Regions from separate parts of the Homo sapiens genome. Here region 2 is linked to region 1. The links are contacts of gene promoters, found by promoter capture Hi-C in human tissues and cell types (Jung and others, 2019). All regions are on one chromosome and are shown on one strand. The core of a region is centred on a gene start or on the middle of the fragment in contact, and the rest is flanking DNA. Distances in the headings are between cores, read along the strand shown. Region 1 holds the start of DPPA4 (developmental pluripotency associated 4). Region 2 has its middle 35 kb from the start of LINC00488.

Region 1 (4,782 bases), core at 1,359-3,858:
ATACTACCTCATTTCTACCACTTGTTAATTGCAATTACATTGGTTTGTGTGATTTCTTTTTCATCATAGGCACTCAATAAATATTGGTTCATTGAATTAAAGGAAGCAAAGTGGGAGTGGGGAAAAGTTGTTTAATCCAGAGACAGTAACATATATTGAGCCTCTGTCTCATACTAGGCATTGGCTTTGATATGCTCCTCACTTTCATTTTTTTAAAAAATATTTATTTATTAAAGAAAAGGTCTTGCCCTGTCACACAGGCTGGAGTGCAGTGACAGGACCATAGCTCACTCCAAGCTCTACCTCCCGGGTTCAAGTGATCTTTTGCCTCAGCCTCCTGAGCAGGTGGGACTACAGGATAATTTTTTGTAGAGGTGAGGTCTCCCTATGTCTCCCCCCACTGATCTCAATCTTCTAGCCTCAAGCAATCTTCCCGCCTTGGCTCCCCAAAGAGTTGGGATTAAAGGCGCGAGCCACTGCGCCCAAGGGTTCCCTATTTTCTTTTTCTCTGAGAGGAGTCTCGCTCTGTCACCCCGGCTGTAGTGCAGTGGTCCAATCTCGGCTCACTGCAACTTCCATCTCCCCGGTTTAAGCAATTCTCTGCCTCAGCCTCCCCACTAGCTGGAATTACAGGCGCCTGCCACCACACCCGGCTGAATTTTTCTATTTTTAGTAGAGATGGGGGTTTCACCATGTTGGCCAGGCTGGTCTCAAACTCCTGGCCTCAAGTGATCCGCCCACCTCAGCCTCCCAAAGTGCTGGGATTACAGGCGTGTGCCACTGTGCCTGGCCTTGGCCTTCCTTTTTTCATTCATTTAATTCTCATAGCAATCTGGCAACAATTACTTCTCAGACACAGAAGCTGAGAATCAGAGGTAACATAAAGACACAGATTAGGGGTACATTAGATATAAATTAAAATTTAAATATAAAGGCTAGGCTCCGTGGCTCACGCCTGTAATCCCGGCACTTTGGGAGGCCGAGGTGGGCTGACCGATTGAGGTCAGGAGTTCGAGACCAGCCTGGCTAACATATCGAAACTCAGTCACTACCAAAAATACAAAAACTACCTGGGCGTGGTGGTGCGTGCCTGCAATCCCAGCTAATCGAGAGGCTGAGTCAGGAGAATCGCTTGAACCCGGGAAGCAGAGGCTGCAGTGAGCCGAGATCGGCTACTGCACACCACTCTGGGCGACAGAGTCAAACTCATTAAAAAAAAAAAATTAATATAATAAAATTTCTCCTAAATCTAAATCCTTTTCTTCACTTTCAGGGTGGATTACTGGACAAATTAACATTTGTATGGCATTTTTACATCTCTATAGCAGTTCTACATTTTGATTTGAAATTTATATTTGCATAAACCTTACAAAAAGTACTCACTTTGGACCTCACAAAAGACTTAAAACCGAGACAGTTAAAAATGACCCAGTTCAAGTCAAGAGGACCTGAGAGCGCTCGGATATGGCCGTTCAGTGCCTGTGCAACGTCTTAAATCCTCTCTTCCTTCAGTTTCTGTCTGCATTGTTCCCAATGTCTGGCTTCTGATTACTCCTAGGTCCTAAGGACGCTGGGAAAAGGGGACGAATTCATTCTCAGCACCCTCGGTTTAGGATCTGTGTCCGTCTAAAGGAAATTAAGGGGTTTCATTCTTTTCCAAACTCAGCTCAATTACCTCTTCCTAAAATCTTTCCTTTAACACCCTTTTCTCCTGTTACCATTTCCCTCTAGCCCCCATATTCAGTTAGTTCTTTCTGACAGGACTAAGCACCTCTTCAAAACAGAAAACCCGGGCCGGGAGCAGCGGCGGGCGCCTGCAGTCCCAGTAGCACTTTGGTAAGCCGAGGTGGGAGGATCGTTTGAGCCTGGGCGGTTACAGTGAATAGTGATGGTGCCACTGCACTCCAGCCAGGGAGACAAAAGTGAAACCCTGTTCCAAAACACAAACCTGAAAACCTAATTTTTTAACTTTTTCTTTTGAGGTGGAGTTTCGCTCTGGTTGCCCAAGCTGGGGGTGCAATGGGGCGATCTCGGCTCACCGCAACCCCCGACTCCCGGGTTCAAGCGATTCTCCTGCCTCAGCCTCCCGAGTAGCTGGGATTACAGGTGTGCGCCACCACACCTGGCTAATTTTGTACTTTTAGTAGAGACGGGGTTTCTCCATTTTGGTCAGGCTGGTCTCGAACTCCCGACCTCAGGTGATCCGCCCGCCTCGGCTGCCCAAAGTGCTGGGATTACAGGCGTGAGCCACCGCGCCCGGCCTCTTTTTTTTTTTTCCCCATCTTTTGACACACTCAACCTCCTCAACTAAACCTAGAAAACCTCATTTCTTACTTGTCTGCTCACTCCAATATACCAGGCTGCAATCATATTCTTGGGCCTTACTCTTAAAATAAAAAAAAAAAAAGTCAAGAGGAGAAAATTCGAAGGCACATTCTTTTCTCCTTAAAGGAAAAATCAGGAGTGCCCAGGGAAGACAGAAACACAAAGACAGACAGAAAACAAATCCACTAAAACTGTACTGACCTCCTTGCCTTTTGCCTTCTCCATACTTGTAGAAGAAGCGGAGCCTCGCAACATGCTTCCAAAATGGCCCCTGCCCCAAGATTGCTATTTGCAAAGTCTCCTCCCACTTCCTGCCGCCCGAAGACCCTTTTTCTCTCCACCTCACCTCTTCTTTTCTTCTCCCCTTCTGTTCCCTCCCCCACAATTTGTAAATGCTAAAATTGCATTCTTTCTTATTCATGGGGTGACTTTTGTCTGGGTTGAATTACTAATACTATTCCTGGCCCTTTTCTGTTCACTTTAAATGTAATTATCCAAAGTATGGTTCCGGAGACATTGGGAGATTGAGCACTCCTTCAGAACGATTCTACGGGGAAAAAAAACAAAAAACAAAAAACAAAAAAACAGTGGCCAGAGACTTGAGCAGGATGTGTGAAGGGATTTAATAATGGAACTTGTGGCAACAGTAGACTTCAGAGACCAGACTGGCGGCTTGAAGAAAGCTATTTTCTCGTACCAAATACATTCCATTTCCTAAGTAAGTTACTCAACCAACTAAAACTCCAGGTTTCTCTGTACTAATACCGAGCATCTTTTCATCTGCCAACGAACTAATAATAGTAGCTTTTAAAGTCTATAGAGTATTTGTTATTTATTTTGTAGAGGGCAAGTGGGGGGGTCTGGCTATTTTGACCTGGCTGGTCTCGAACTCCTGCCCTCAAGTAATTCTCCAGCCTTGTCCTCCCAAAGTGTTGGGATTACAGGCGTGAGCCACCACTCCCCGCCCGAGTATTTTTTTATATCTCAAATTGTGAGTTTTAAATTCAGTCATTATTGTTCCCCATTTTATATATGACTAAAGTTGGTATAAATTTTTATTGGTAACTTTTTCAATAGCACAGTAAGTGAACCCCTAACCTACTGACTCCCAAAGAAGTTCAAGTTTTTCTCCTTAAAATAATTTGAAAAATCTTTCCTCAGATCAGTGCTCCCTGTCAGATTGTCAAGAGATGTGAAGTGAAGGAAGCAGTGGCTGTGCGACTGAAACCCTCCCTTGTCAGGGTCCAAAGTCTCTTTTGTTCTTTGGTTTACTTTGTTGTTTTTTTTTCCTACATCTCATTGCTTGTCCTAAAATGATAAATAAGAGACTGTCTTTATCCAAATGGTGTTAGTAATCTGCTCACAGGCTAGAAATCCACGGACAGAAAAAGTAAGTAAACGGAGCCCAGGAATAGAGAAGGAAGTGCAGGTTGTGGACTGGGCAACCCCCAAGGCGGCAAAGAGGAAACCAGGTGAGTTGAGGTCATCTGGGAGATATTAGGGCTTTGATTTAACAATTCTTTACCACAGCCTTTGGTAACCACCAGTAGGACTTTCTAATTAAGGTTTGTGTATAAAGTGTATAACTGAATCATCTTTCTTTTGTCAGTGTAATTGAACGTAACATTCAGAATAACTGGAGTTCTGGGCTGGGCATGGTGGCTCACGCCTGTAATCTCAGCACTTTGGGGGGCTGAGGTGGGCAGGTCACTTGAGTTCAGGAGTTTTGAGACCAGCCTGGCCAACAATGGCAGAACCCCTTCTCTACTAAAAATGCAAAAATTAGCCGGGCATGGTGCGTGCCTGTAATCCCAGCTACCAAGGAGGTTGAGGCAGGAGAATTGCTTGAGCTGGAGAGGCAGAGGTTGCAGTGAGTCAAGATCGTGCCATTGCACTCCAGCCTGGGTGACAGTGTGAGACTCCATCTCAAAATAAAACATAAAATAAAAATAAAACATAAAAACACAGACACCAAATCCAGGCCAGATTGATTCATTTTTAAATGTAAGGCTTTAGCAGCTAGCCAGACAGGATTTAAACCCAACCTCCCCTTCACTAGCTGTGTGACCTGGGCAATAACGTTAGGTCTCTTTGTTTTCTCATCCATGAAATGAGAGTCATGAAAATAATAGCCTTTACTTAGAGGGTTGTGGGCATGTCTGGAGAAAACAGTGTCTGGAGAAAACAGTGGCTGGCACAGCACATGTTGGGATCAGAAGAGCAGGGCGTGGTGGCTCATGCCAGTAATCCCAGCACTTTGGGAGGCAGGAGAATCGCTTGAGCTCATGAGTTCAAGACCAGCCTGGGCAATATAGTGAAACCCCATTTCTACCAAAAATACAAAAAATTACCAGGCGTGGTGGCGCAGGGGTGCCAGCTACTCGAGAGGCTGAGGTGGGAGGATCGCTTGAGTCCAAGAGGTGGAGGTTGCAGTGTGATCATGCCGCTGTACTCCAG
Region 2 (4,389 bases), core at 1,533-4,032, 120 kb before region 1:
AGATAATTTAGAAGGATAGATTTGGCCTCTTTGACTATGCACACACTGTTTTTCTACTCTGAATATGGTATATTAAGAAGAGTGAGCAAGTTGACAAAATTCAATAAGGTATTTAACAGCTTCTGATGCTTTCTAACCCAGGGTTTCTCAGAATTAGTATTCTAATATCTGTGGAATTTTTTATTAGGCTTTAGTAAATCTATTTGATGTGTTAAAACTCAATCACACACTAAATGCAGCTGAGCATTTAGACTGTTAATTTCAGTCCCTCTATACATGGGTATTTACTCCAAATGACCTATCACATTGAATAAAGATTGTTTTCTAAGACATTTTTTAAAGCCTCTCACTAGTGTCTACTGAATTGGTGGTCAAGTACTAAACCATAAAAATCATCCATTAGAAGCTGGGAAACATACAACCCAAGATGGAATAAGCTTGGTAATCATTTTGACAAGGGTGAAATCGAAGTAAGAAACCTTGCTTAATCCACTGAACCGAATGTGGGGAAGTGTAATAAAGACACCGCCCTCCAGCACTGTACTCAACCAGATACTTCCGTCTGGGTTGGAGGAAATGGAACCACCAGAAGCAGCCTAACTCATGGCATGGTGGTCTGTACTCAGCTAAGCTTTGACAAGCTGGCACCCAGTCCTTACTTGGGCACAGGCACAAATCTAAAATCCGCTCTTAGGCACAGATGCATTGGCATGAAATCTGTCCGTAGGCCCAGGAACTGGGACTTTTGGATACATTTGCATAATATATCATTCCAACAAAGTAATTGAAACTGTGGGGGGTGGGCAAATGTGATAAAATACAGCAGGCAGAGGAGGAAAAATTCAGACATTGTTGGCATCAGACCCACAGTCTTAAGAGGGAAAAAAAGTATTTTGTGTAGAAAATTTCTGGAAGAATGTATGCCAAATTGTTAATAGTAGTTATCTCTTAGAGAAATTATTGTTAAAGTTTTTTTTTTGAAATTGCACATTTCTATAACTTTTTTAAAGCATATATTACTTATGTGATCAGAAAAAAAGAATTGGAAAGCAAAAAATGTGCCACACCCATAATTTATTTGCCAGCAATCAATTCCCAGTTCTTCACTTATAGACCACTGAAAAAGAAATCTGGAATTTCTCCTTTTTGATATACACTTGCAAGGACCAACCTGTCAACCCCTTTACAAATGTTAAAAGATTCCTGGTCTTCTTTATGGAATAAACTCCCCACTAAGTAGATTTGCCTAGTATTCAAGGTGAGGTTGAGTCATATGTATAAATAAAGACTTTTAGTTCATCTTCAATAAGACAGAATGTTCTTTAAACCAACGGTACTGGAAGCAAATAATTTCATTAAAAAAAGTTTGGTCAAAATATTGAATGGTGTTTTTCACCTGCCACAGCAATTAAAATGCCTGTAACAAAATACCATTGAGATAAATTATAGTCCTTTGTTCAGAGCTCATCAGAAAAGATCTAATTTATAGCATTGACTATAACTTGTGAAAAAGTCTCTGTCTGAAAGCTAATACCATGATAAATTTTAATCATGTAGATAGAACTAGCTTCAAAGCCGTATTAATTATACATTTAAGCTCTACATACAAACTCATACATCACAGTACACCCAGAACATGTAAAATACAGTCTGAACCAAATTAAAATATGCCAATTTCCTCAGCAGTTATTTGCTTTTGATATACTGTAGTTATTTCAGTCCAGTCTTTATAAACATTAAATTACTGCTGTGTTTTCTTAGCCATTTTGCTTCCTCAGAGAGAACTCTAAGCTCTGGTTAACTTTCTGATTTTATACTTCTGCAGAATACAAAGTGACATCCAGAATGCCTTTCTTCATCCAAGCTAAGTAAAAAGGTTAAAAGTTGCTAGCAAGTTTTACCTTTCCACAAAGTCTACCAGCTGTGCCCACCACCCACCACAATTCCTACTCTCACACTCCTATTACTCTAGTTTTTCACCCCAGCATCACAAATACAGGTCAAGTCACCAGAGTCCCATAAGTATAGGCATATATTCCCTGCTTCAGAAATGGCTTCACTACCACTACTGAAAGCAGCCAGTCAGCAAACTGTTAGCAATCTGTGACAGGATAAGGAGCTGTGCCAGATGTGAATGAACATACTGCTTCCTTCATTGAGAAAGTCTTTTTACAAAGAAAATATGAGCTGAACTGAATGGCATGCTTAGTGTTGTAGTGAGAATTGTATATATGTAACATATCACAGTGATAAATAAAAATAAAAATTTGTAGATTCAAAATTTAGTTTTTTTAATCTCTCCTGTCTTTAGTTTCCTAGTTTCCTTCCCTAAAGTAACCACCTTTACCACTTTATAGATATTCTATGCATATGAAATTGTGTGTGTGTAGAACAAAAAAAAAGTATTATATACAATATTCTTTACTCTTTTAACATTGCATATTGGATATTGCCCCAAATCAATACATATAGAGTAGCTTTATTCTTTATGAAGGTTGCATAGTTTCTCATGCCATGCCTGTACATAATTTATTTATTTTTATTTTTTTATTTAACCAGTTCTCTAATATTAATATTTCTGCTGCCTTCAATCTTTTTGCTACTCCAAGCAATGCTATGATGAATATACTTTTAAGTTTGTCATTTAAGGTGTGCTGAGTATATAAGTAGGTAAACTCCTGTAGTAGAATTGCAAGATCAATGGGTATGTGCATTTGTAATTATGATAGATATTGTTAGATAGCCTCTTACAGAGTTTACACCAAATTGTATCCCCAAAGGCAGCGTATAAGATGCTATTTTCTTACACTCTTTCAATACAGTATGCTATCAAATTTCTTTTTTCTTTGCCAAATTGACAAGGGAAAATGGCACCTCAGTATAGTTTTAATTTTTAATTTTTATTATGTATAAAGTAAATACCTTTGCTTATGTTCAGACCCATCTGTATTTACTTTAATGCAAACTATTTTATACTGTGTTCATTTTTTATTGGATTATTGGTCTTTTTCTTACATATTTATTTGTATATGCTGAGGAACATACCCTTTGTTCTATGTCATGAGGTGCAAACAAATATATTTTCCTGGTTTGTCATGTCTAATTTGTCTTTGCTTAAGGTATTTTAATGCCATGACAATTTTATTGTAATTATATGTGGCCAAATTAATCAACTTTTTCTTTTATGATTTCTTAGTTTTGGATTAACCTTAGAAAAGTCTTCCCAATACACACACATACGAACACACACATACCCACACACCTATGTGTATACATATATAGTATTTTCCTAGTATACTTATATTTTAAGTTTTCTTTGTACATCTTGGAAAAATCTGGAATTTTGTTGTAAGTAATGAGGTAAGGATCCAAAATTAATTTTATTTTCCAGATAGCTATCCAGTTGTCCCAATACCATTTATTATTAGTTTGGTGCAAGAGTAATTGCCATTACATTGCTTACCCTCTGACTTTCTATCCCATTCTTGCCATATATTAACATCTGATACATATTTGGATCTACTTACAGACTGTCTTGTTTATTCCATTTATCTGCCTGTCAATTCATGCAAAAATTAATGTAATTATTATTATATTAATGTAATTACAGTAGTGCTATATTTTAACATTTGGGTGGGTAATTAACTTGCTACTCCTCTTTTTCAAGAATTTTCTTGATGTTTTAAAATTTTCTGTATGAATCAACACTTCCAGTTCCAAAAACAAATGCATAGATAAACAATAAATACTCTTACTGTATTTATTGGTACAGTAAGAGAATTAAGCTTATTACTTAAATTAGGAAGAACTGACATGTTTATAATATTGAATCTCTGTATTTAAGAAAATGTATGTTTTTCCATTCATTTGTGTAGATTTCATACACTTCTTGTTACATTTATTTCTAGAAATTAATTTTTGTTGCTATTGTAAATGTGATGATTTTTTTCATTATATCTTCTAATCGGTTATTGTCTGTACCTAAGAAAGCTGTTGATTACTCTTTATTATTGTATTCAAGTAGTTATGAATTCCCCTACTGTTTGCTATAATTTTTTAGTTTATTCTTTTGTGTATTCCATGTAAGCAAGTATAACATTTGCAAAAACAATTTTACTTTCTTTTTTCAAACATATATATAACTCATTTCTTTTTTCTAATTGCATTGGCAAGTATAGTCAGGACTATGTTAATAAAATAGTAGAGATAGTAGACACTCTGGCTTCTTCTTGACATTAATGGAACAACATAAACCCATTTTAAGCTAATAGTCACCATCTAAAAGCTAGCATCATATTTAATGTGTTCCCAGTGTGTTTTAATTAAACATAATGCTGGCTTTTAAAAAGTGACTATTAGTTTAAAATGTGTCCATAAAGTCTTTAATTG

Evidence for each region. Contacts are between HindIII fragments. The study calls those that stand out against the background at their distance.
Region 2: a contact is called between a fragment that was not itself captured here and the fragment with the promoter of DPPA4 in region 1, in 2 of the 25 tissues and cell types used here (H1 embryonic stem cells and mesenchymal stem cells).

The regions. Positions count from the first base shown.
Region 1 is chr3:109,334,938-109,339,719 of GRCh38, forward strand. DPPA4 (developmental pluripotency associated 4) reads right to left here and starts at 2,609. Exons shown (of 7, transcript NM_018189.4): 1 at 2,527-2,609. The coding sequence starts at 2,580. RefSeq lists enhancers at 889-1,497, 1,498-2,106, 2,107-2,714, 3,933-4,540. The HindIII fragment of the contact is 13,883 bases long and covers 1-4,782 here.
Region 2 is chr3:109,211,417-109,215,805 of GRCh38, forward strand. No RefSeq gene overlaps it. Among named protein-coding and RNA genes, the nearest start is that of LINC00488, 35 kb to the left of the region's middle. The HindIII fragment of the contact is 5,873 bases long and covers 1-4,389 here.